Linked DNA regions of Homo sapiens: regions 1 and 3 are each linked to region 2. Evidence: promoter capture Hi-C in 16 types of primary human blood cells and fetal thymus (Javierre and others, 2016). All regions are on one chromosome and are shown on one strand. The core of a region is centred on a gene start or on the middle of the fragment in contact, and the rest is flanking DNA. Distances in the headings are between cores, read along the strand shown.

Region 1 (2,750 bases), core at 145-2,644, 3.1 Mb before region 2:
ATTAGGGTTTTTGTTGGAGGCAGGAATTTTGTTTTGATTTGGTCTGGTTTTAGAACTTAAAAGTACAGTAAAGTATACAGTAAACGCCTTTATGCTCTACTCCAAATGTTATATTTGCTTCAGGTTAAAGTTGAAAGTCCCTTTTTTGATTATTTGCTTCTCAGCATATGTAGTTTTTAGTTTTTCTGTTGGAAACAGGATTTTAAGCTATACTTCTACTCATTTAACTATAAGATAAATGCTTACATTTTAAAATGTATTTGAATATTTATTTGAAGTGCTGATATGCAGCCTTAAGTTGTACTTCATGTGTGATTGGATTTCTGACCGTAGATATGGTTGGATTGAAGACTGTACCGTGTTTTGATGATTCTCCTATTATTATTTTTTTCCCTAGGCAGAAGAATTGTTTTTATGGGTTCCACGAAAATTGCTAATGACTGTTGAATCTGCTAAAAATTCAGTGTTGGGTGAGAATAATTTCTGACTCTTCAAGGCAAAGCACAAATGACAAAAATATGTAAAATTCCATTTTATGGCACTAAGGATAATACTTGGTTTTTCTCGACTGGCGAAATATTCCCTCAAATATGCATTAAGTGTTTTTCATTTAATGTTATAAAAAAGATGCACATGACCTTTATTTATTATTATTATTATTTTTGAGATAGGGTCTCGCTTTGTCACCTAGGCTGGAGTACACTGGCACCATCATAGCTCACTACAGCCTTGATCTCCCAGGCTCAAATGATTCTCCCACAGGTGTGCACCACTACATCTGGCTAATTTTTTTTTTTTTTTTTTTTTTGTAGTGATGGGGTTTTGCTATATTGCCCAGGCTGGTCTCAAAGTCCTGAGCTCAAGCAATCCTCCCACCTTGACCTCCCAAAGTGCTAGGATTACAGGTGTGAGCCACTGCGCCCAGCCTGTACCTGACTTTAAATGTTACAAGACCTTTTAGTTTTTCTGTAATTTGTAAACGTATATTTAAATGAAGTTTTTAAGAAGTTTGTGGAACTTACGCTGTTAACTTCTGGGTTAATTCAGGGCCCTTATATTCTCAAGACCGAATCCTTCAAGCCATGGGAAACATCGCACTGGCCTTTCATTTGCTGTGTGAGCGAGCCAGCCCTAACTCCTTCTGGCAGCCCTATATTCAAACCCTCCCCAGTGAATATGACACTCCTCTCTACTTTGAAGAAGATGAAGTTCGGTATCTTCAGTCCACACAAGCTATACATGATGTCTTCAGCCAGTATAAAAACACAGCTCGACAGTACGCCTACTTCTATAAAGTCATCCAGGTGAGCAGCTGTTTGCAATTTAAGTATATATTTCACAGAGTGGGGAGGAAAGAGGAATTGAGTCCATAAATATTCCATTTGATGTCTTATTAAGGATACTTAAACATTTTACTTTTTAAATTGAAAATATAAAATACATTTCATCGTTTGTTTTTACAGAAATATCAATGAAATGCGGTTACATATATATATCTGATTTCATCAGTGCCCAGTGTTAATACAAGCAGCAGTTGTTCCTGAGTTATTGAAATCACCAAGTTTTTTTGTAAACAAAAGATCACAATGAAATTTTAAAAGCCTTAAAGCATATCTAATGCAATAAGTTACTCTGTGTATAAATTTTTCAAGAAAATGAGGGTTAATTTTTTTCTATATATGTTAGTGTAAAATATTGACAGTTAATTTAGCAAATTATAACATTTATGTTTTTCAACGTGTACTGTGTATTAATTTTAATTTGTTCTCAGTGAAAGTTTCTCATAGAAATCTCTATAAGGCTCCAAGTATTTGAATTACCTGTGATGACACCTTTCTGTATTTTGGTGGTGTGGCCACCGTTATCTTTCATTTGCAGTTGAACAGCAGTCAGAAGGAACAGGGCCAGTACCACAGTCCCCACCAGGACTGAGAGGCAGTGTGGCTCCTTCTCCTGATTCTGCACAATCTGAATCACTCAAGAGTCAGCTCCTGGGCTGCTGTTCTTGAGATACGACAAGTGGGCAGGTGAACTACTTGCTCGCTTTCCTTGTCTTTGGTTGGTGTGACAACCTGAATTAGGTTTGATTTGGTTGTTCCTTAAATGGTCTATCCTTGCTATGTTTTATTTGCAAGAAGTGGTAACCTCATTTCATTGCTACAGGTGATATTGCTTTCCGTTTATTATTTTCACTTTGTAGCATGCTTACTACACAAGAATGTTACACTCAGTTACATCTCCTCCTCCAGCAAGCACTTCAAATATGTCAAAAATTATACATGACTGTTGTCTTCATGTGGAAATCAATCACTCGGTTTTTCTAAACTTTAGGAAGTCATTAGGAATGGTCATACAGTATGTATATAGCTTTTATTTCAAGTTGGCTTAATTTAAAAACTATTGATGAAGCCAAATCAAAACTTTGCTTCTTCATATAGTGTGCACCTGCAGTCCTGCAGTCTAAGGTTGGTTTGGCTCTTCATGACCTGGAAGGGTTATACTTTTATTCTTAGTTCTCAATGGTATATCTTTCATGACTAAAGGTTAAGCTGACTTTAGTAGGTCTAAGTATTTGTCATTTTCTCTTGCTGGACAATGAACTACAAGCTGGCCCTTTTTACTAATGTGCTTCTAGTTTGCAAACGCTGGTAGCCTGCTCTGAGAGGACTCTCTTCTGTTGGCAGGTTGGAGGGTCTAGGATGATGGCAGGTCTTCTGATAACCGACTTGGCGTGAATGAGCTTTGGCTGT
Region 2 (2,855 bases), core at 22-2,521:
CAGTTTGTGGCAATTGGTTACCACAGCCCTAGAAAACTAATACAGATTGTACGTACTGTAGCCTCATCCTATTTTAAGCAGATTTGTCCTGTTCGAAAGTGCAGTCATTAGCCTCAGAGAAGTCTGTCCAGGGTGAGATTAGATTTCTCTGTAGCTCTAGAGGACAGAATTCAGATGGACGGGTCCTACCCACAGGGAATGATAAAATCATGGCTTTCTTTTGACAACTGATCATATTAGCATGAAGGGCCCCAGAGCCCTTTTTCTGAATATCTTCATTTTCCAGGGATAAAGACACAGAAAGGTGAGGAAACTTAATGGAACTCGGGGACCCAAACAGTGTCTGGTCCATAATAGATGCTCAAAAACCATATATTGAAGGGATGGATGAATGAAAAACGCTTCATGGGCAATATAAAAATTTGATTTACTCACGCCTGTAATCCCTTTTGGATTTACTCGGCCTGTAATTTGGGAGGCCGAGACGGGTGGGTCACGAGGTCAGGAGATCGATCGAGACCATCCTGGCTAACACAGTGAAACCCCGTCTCTGCTAAAAATACAAAAAATTAGCCGGGCGCGGTGTCGGGCGCCTGTAGTCCCAGCTACTCGGAGGCTGAGGCAGGAGAATGGCGTGAACCCGGGAGGCGGAGCTTGCAGTGAGCCGAGATCGCGCCACTGCACTCCAGCCTGGGCGACAGAGCAAGGCTCCGTCTCAAAAAAAAAAAATTGATTTATTTTCTCGTTTAGCTGCCTGCTTCAAAATCGATGGAAGGGTAGAAAGAGAACCTAGGAGGGGGCAAGAGACCTGGAGTCTCTGTCCAGGTTCTGGCCTCAACTCTCTATGTGATCTTGGGCAAGTCCCTGCCTCTTAGCCTCAGTTTCCCCTCATTAAAAGGAGGAACAGGGGATGGACCAGTGATTTCCAGACACCTGAGCTTCCATGTAGAATCTCTTGACCAGCCTGGGTGCGGACTGGGGTCCAGGGGGCATTGGTGGTGCCCAGGACGCGGGACCCTCCCTGAGGAAAGGCCCCGACAGCGCCCTGGGGCGCAGACCCTCGCTGGGTTTGCGGACCGGGGGCCGAGGGCTGGGAGCTGAGAGCTGGCGTGAGGCTCTGGGCCGCCGCCGCCGCTCACCTTCCCGATGTTTCCGCTGCTGTAGGAATCCAACAGGTTTATAAACACCCTCTGGGTCCGGATAACCTTCTCCGTGAGAGCAGCAGTTTCCTCTTCTTCAGCCATGGTGGGAGCCGCGCTGGTTGCTAAGGTGAAAGCGCCACTCGCTTGCCAAGGAGGCGGGGCCCGGGCCAGGGAGGCGGGGCAGGTTCTCTCTGGGGGCGGGGCCTTGGCTCCGGGCAGTTTGCCGGGCGGGGAGGGGCGTGTCGTGGGCGAAGCAGGGAGTGCCGGGCGGGGCGGTGCGTGTCGTGCCCGGCGCTAATCAGGGCGTGCCAGGCGGGACGGGGCAGGCTGTGCCGGTCGCTGGGCGGGGCGTGCCGGGTAGGGCGGGGCGAGTCGTGCCGGGGGGTTGGGCGGGGCATGCCGGGCAGGGCGGGGTGTGTAGTGCAGTGGGCTGGGCGGGGCGCGCCGGGCGAAGCGGGGCTCAGGGCTCGCAACTGCGCGCGCTGTCGGCTGCTGGGCGCCAGGCGGATGTCCCTGCGAGTGCTTTCCGCGGCGCCGCGCGTGCAGCCCGGGTCTCACCCTGGCTTGCTGCCCACTGGGAGCCCTTGGGCAGTGCATGGTTTCTTTCCGAAGCTCCCTGGGCGTCTGTCCCGGGGGGCCATGTGATTGCTGTGCCTTTTTAATCTCCATTGTTCGGAAAGTCTGGAAACACATCCCTGTGTCCGCTTGACCCGATGACTAAAAATAATGAGAATTCTGAAGAAGAGGGAATGGCCCACAGCCTAGGCCTCTCCCCGACACGTGGGAGTTACTCAGCACGCTCCCATGGGGTGGTCTGGCCGGGGCGACGGGACGTAAGCCTCAGCTGCGAAGAAAAGCTGTTGCCATGGAGTTTCGGGCTCCCGAACACCCGAGCGACGCTAGCGTGGTCCCGCCTTGCGGCAGGTGCGGCTTGGTCCGCCGGCTCAGCTCCCTTGGGGGTTGTTTCCAGACGCACGTTCCGGGAAGACCCCTGGTGTCGGCTGGGGGCGACCAGAGCCCGTAGGCGCCCGGGATTCGCTCACATTCACCAAGGGAAGAAATTTAGACTTGACCGTTCCACAAGAGATTATACATGCAGTTGCTGAGATAAATCCACAAATTAAAAGATAACATTCACCTCGGTGATCACTGGACCATAAAGGTTGTGGTGGACTAAGAATACGCAGTTCCCTTGGAATAGCCTGATCATATTGAACTGTTTTCATGCCTTAAGCATTAACTCCTTAAATGCAAATATTTAACACTTGCAGCAATTGTGTGTGCGTGGTTTCTTCTCGTTCTTTTTATTATTTTTAATAGAGACAGGGTCTCACTATGTTTGTTGCCCAGGCTAGTCTCTAACTCCGGAGCTCAAGAAACTCTCCTGCCTCGTCCTCCCAAAGTGCTGGTATTACAGGCATGAGCCACCACGCCAGCGTTCTTGTTCTTTTTATTTTTAATTTATTTTTTTGAGATGGAGTCTCGCTCTGTCACCCAGACTGGAGTGCAATGGCATAATCTCAGCTCACTGCAACCTCGCCTCCCGGGTTCAAGCGATTCTCCTGCCTCAGCCTTCGAAGTAGCTGGGACTACAGGCGCCTACCACCGTTCCCGGCTAATTTTTGTATTTTTAGTAGAGACAGGTTTTCAGCATGTTGGTCACGCTGGTCTTGAACTTCTGGCCTCAAGTGATCCACCCGCCTCGGCCTCTCA
Region 3 (2,700 bases), core at 41-2,540, 3.3 Mb before region 2:
GCTCACATTCTGGGGGAATGTTCTCAGTTTTGAGTCACTTAAGTGAGGACAGAGTCTGAGCCCAGAGCTTCCACCCTAACCCCTGGGGTTCCCTGCCACATGGGAAGGAAGGTGAGTGCCATCTCAGGAAGACAGAGGGCACAGAGAGGGGTGGGGTCCTCATGGCCCACCAAGAAAGGGGAAAAAAAACCCATTCCTTCTGGCACCTGCAGGGGGCGCTGGGGAGGCGACAACAGAACAGGAAGACCCAGGTGTTAAAAACAAGCAGGTAAGGCTAACACCATGGCCAGACATGGGGACTTGTTGCTCAGCGCCCCGGCAGGCAGAAGCCCACTTGGCATGTCCCTGGTGATAGACTGGACACAGCAGAGCAGCCCTGGGAGAGAGGAGAGGCAATCCCCCACCGCCCACCACCCCACACCTCTCCAGCACATCCAGTTTCCTGCAACATCATGATTGGCTGAGTGGGGACCCAAGCTCTCCTGTGGGCAGAGAAAACCTTGGCCAGTGAACGAGGAGAGGCCATCTGGAGAGCCCACAGTGAAGTCACCCAGAGGGATGAAGGGAATGCTCCAGTAGTGGAGGAGCGGGCTACCCACTAGGGGTAGGCGTGAGGGTGAGGGACCATGATTGTGGCTCATGCCAGAGGGGCAGGGTGGCGAGTGCTCAGCTGGGCACCCAAAGCTCATCAGATGCACCACCCGCCAGAGCCAGCTGTGGGGCTCCCCCATGGCTGGCCACCCTGCTCCTTGCTGAACAGCCCCACCCCAGCAACTGGGCAAATCGGAGTGGAACCAGAACTGTCCAGGAGGAGTCAATTTATCCCCAAATAAATAAAAATTGGGAGAGAAAGACCTTTCATTGTCAAGTTTACATCCACTCCCACATTACCAGGAGAGTAGGGGCTGATGAGGGAAGTTAGAACAGTGACAGAGAAATAAAGAAGCTACAGGTGTTTGTGTGGGATCTGAGTGTGGGGGTCTGAGTTTTCAGCTGTTACACGGATCGGTGCAGTAGGATGTGGTAAGAAAAGCACAGAGGAGGGGCACTGAGGGAGGGCCTCCTGTAGAATGAGGAAGATGAAGAGTTGCCTCTTGCAGCGAGAGGGTTCCTTGCCTGCCAGCTGGCAAAGCCCTGGGGTACCCGGGGGCAAATGCTACTACTGGAGACTCAACACACAGATCTCTCGTCAACCACAGTATCGCCAATCATAGTTTAAAGATCCAGGCTTTTAATGTCAAGGCATCGGGTTTCTGCTAGAAGAGTTTCCAGAACTTTCATTTAGTGCAGTTTTATATTTGACCACTAACCAATTTTTAATCCAAAATCTTTTTATATATGCATTGTTCAGTTCACCTCCTTAGAATAAATAGCCCAATCATGATTATATTCATCTTCCTCCCACTGCTCCCTCCGCACCCCACACACTCAGGTCACATGTAGACTCTGTGGTATAAGATTTGGGAAGAATTTAGCCATAAGAAGGAAAGCAATAAGGATACATGCTACTACATGAATGAACTTTTGAAACATTATACTAAGTGAAAGAAGCCAGACACAAAAGGCCACATATTGTATGATTCCATTTATATGAAATGTCCAGAACAGGCAAATCCACAGAGACAGAAAGCAGATTCATGGTTGCCAGGGCTGTGAGGGGTGGGAGAAAATGAGGAGTGATGGCTAATGGGTACGGGGTTTCTTTCTGGGGTGACAAAACAGTTCTGAAATCGGTGGCGATGGCTGCACAGTGCTGTGAATGTACCAAAAACCACTGAATCATACACTAAAGAATACATTTTGTGGAATGCAAGTTACATTTCAATTTTTTTTAAGATGATTTAAATTCTGCTTTCTCAAGACACAGAGACCAGAACAGGTCATTTGAGTTTATGAGAAGACCAAGTAACGATGAAACTTATCAGAACAAGCACCAAACTCATTCAATTCTAAGTGCTGATGGCTTCTCTGAAAACTTGAGAGGGTGATAGTGTCCACCACGGAACTCACGGGAGATTTCCACCATTCAACCTTGAATTGCTATTCATAGAGTGTCTACTATGCATGTACAATGTGCTGCTACATGTCGGAGATGCAGCAGTGACTGAGACAGACAGGGGGCCCATGGAAAAGAGACACTTAGGAAAAACTTGCACAAATAATTGCCCAATTAACATTATGCTGTAAAGGAAAATTACAGTGATTTCAGGGTTTATAAAATGAACATAATATTTTTGGGGGAGCAGGAGGAACCTCCCTGAGGAGTTAGCATTGAAGCCAAACCTGGAAGGCTGGGGGAAGAAGCATCCAGGTAAAGTAGAAGGCAGAGGAGCTAAGCAAGGAGAGAGAGAGAGAGCACCAGAAGGGCAGAGAGCCAGCAGGGAGAACAGGTGCCTCCCTATGTCACCAGCCACAGAGATCTTTCCTGAACCCATCAAGCAGAGATTCAGGCTTCTAACGCCAGTACATCTGGCTTGTGCTGGAGATGGGTGCCTTCCAGAATATTCATGTCCTGAGATTTTAAAAAGTGTGTCTAATACAATTGTTTATTCATTCATTCAACAAATATTTATTGAGATCTGCAACACGCCAGGCACTGGGGATACACAAGCGAACACAGAGTGTCCCTGTCCTCCCGGGGCTCACATTCTAGAGGGGGAGACAGTCAACAGGTGAACAGACAGTCAACAGGTGGAAAGA

The links. Contacts are between HindIII fragments. The CHiCAGO score rates a contact against its expected background, and 5 or more counts as called.
Region 1: a contact is called between a fragment that was not itself captured here and the fragment with the promoter of AK7 in region 2, in 1 of 17 cell types (total CD4 T cells). The highest score is 10.1, in total CD4 T cells.
Region 3: a fragment that was not itself captured here is called in contact with the fragment with the promoter of AK7 in region 2 in 1 of 17 cell types (fetal thymus); the score reaches 5.3 in fetal thymus.

What each region holds. Positions count from the first base shown.
Region 1 is chr14:99,456,833-99,459,582 of GRCh38, reverse strand. It overlaps SETD3 (SET domain containing 3, actin N3(tau)-histidine methyltransferase), which reads left to right. Exons shown (of 13, transcript NM_032233.3): 5 at 398-470; 6 at 1,048-1,304. Among named protein-coding and RNA genes, the nearest start is that of SETD3, 23 kb to the left of the region's middle. The HindIII fragment of the contact is 3,071 bases long and covers 1-2,750 here.
Region 2 is chr14:96,390,544-96,393,398 of GRCh38, reverse strand. AK7 (adenylate kinase 7) reads right to left here and starts at 1,271. Exons shown (of 18, transcript NM_152327.5): 1 at 1,140-1,271. The coding sequence starts at 1,244. RefSeq lists a silencer at 1,202-1,711. The HindIII fragment of the contact is 12,427 bases long and covers 1-2,855 here.
Region 3 is chr14:99,685,473-99,688,172 of GRCh38, reverse strand. All of the region lies in intron 1 of CYP46A1 (cytochrome P450 family 46 subfamily A member 1), which reads right to left. Among named protein-coding and RNA genes, the nearest start is that of CYP46A1, 2.5 kb to the right of the region's middle. The HindIII fragment of the contact is 3,529 bases long and covers 1-2,700 here.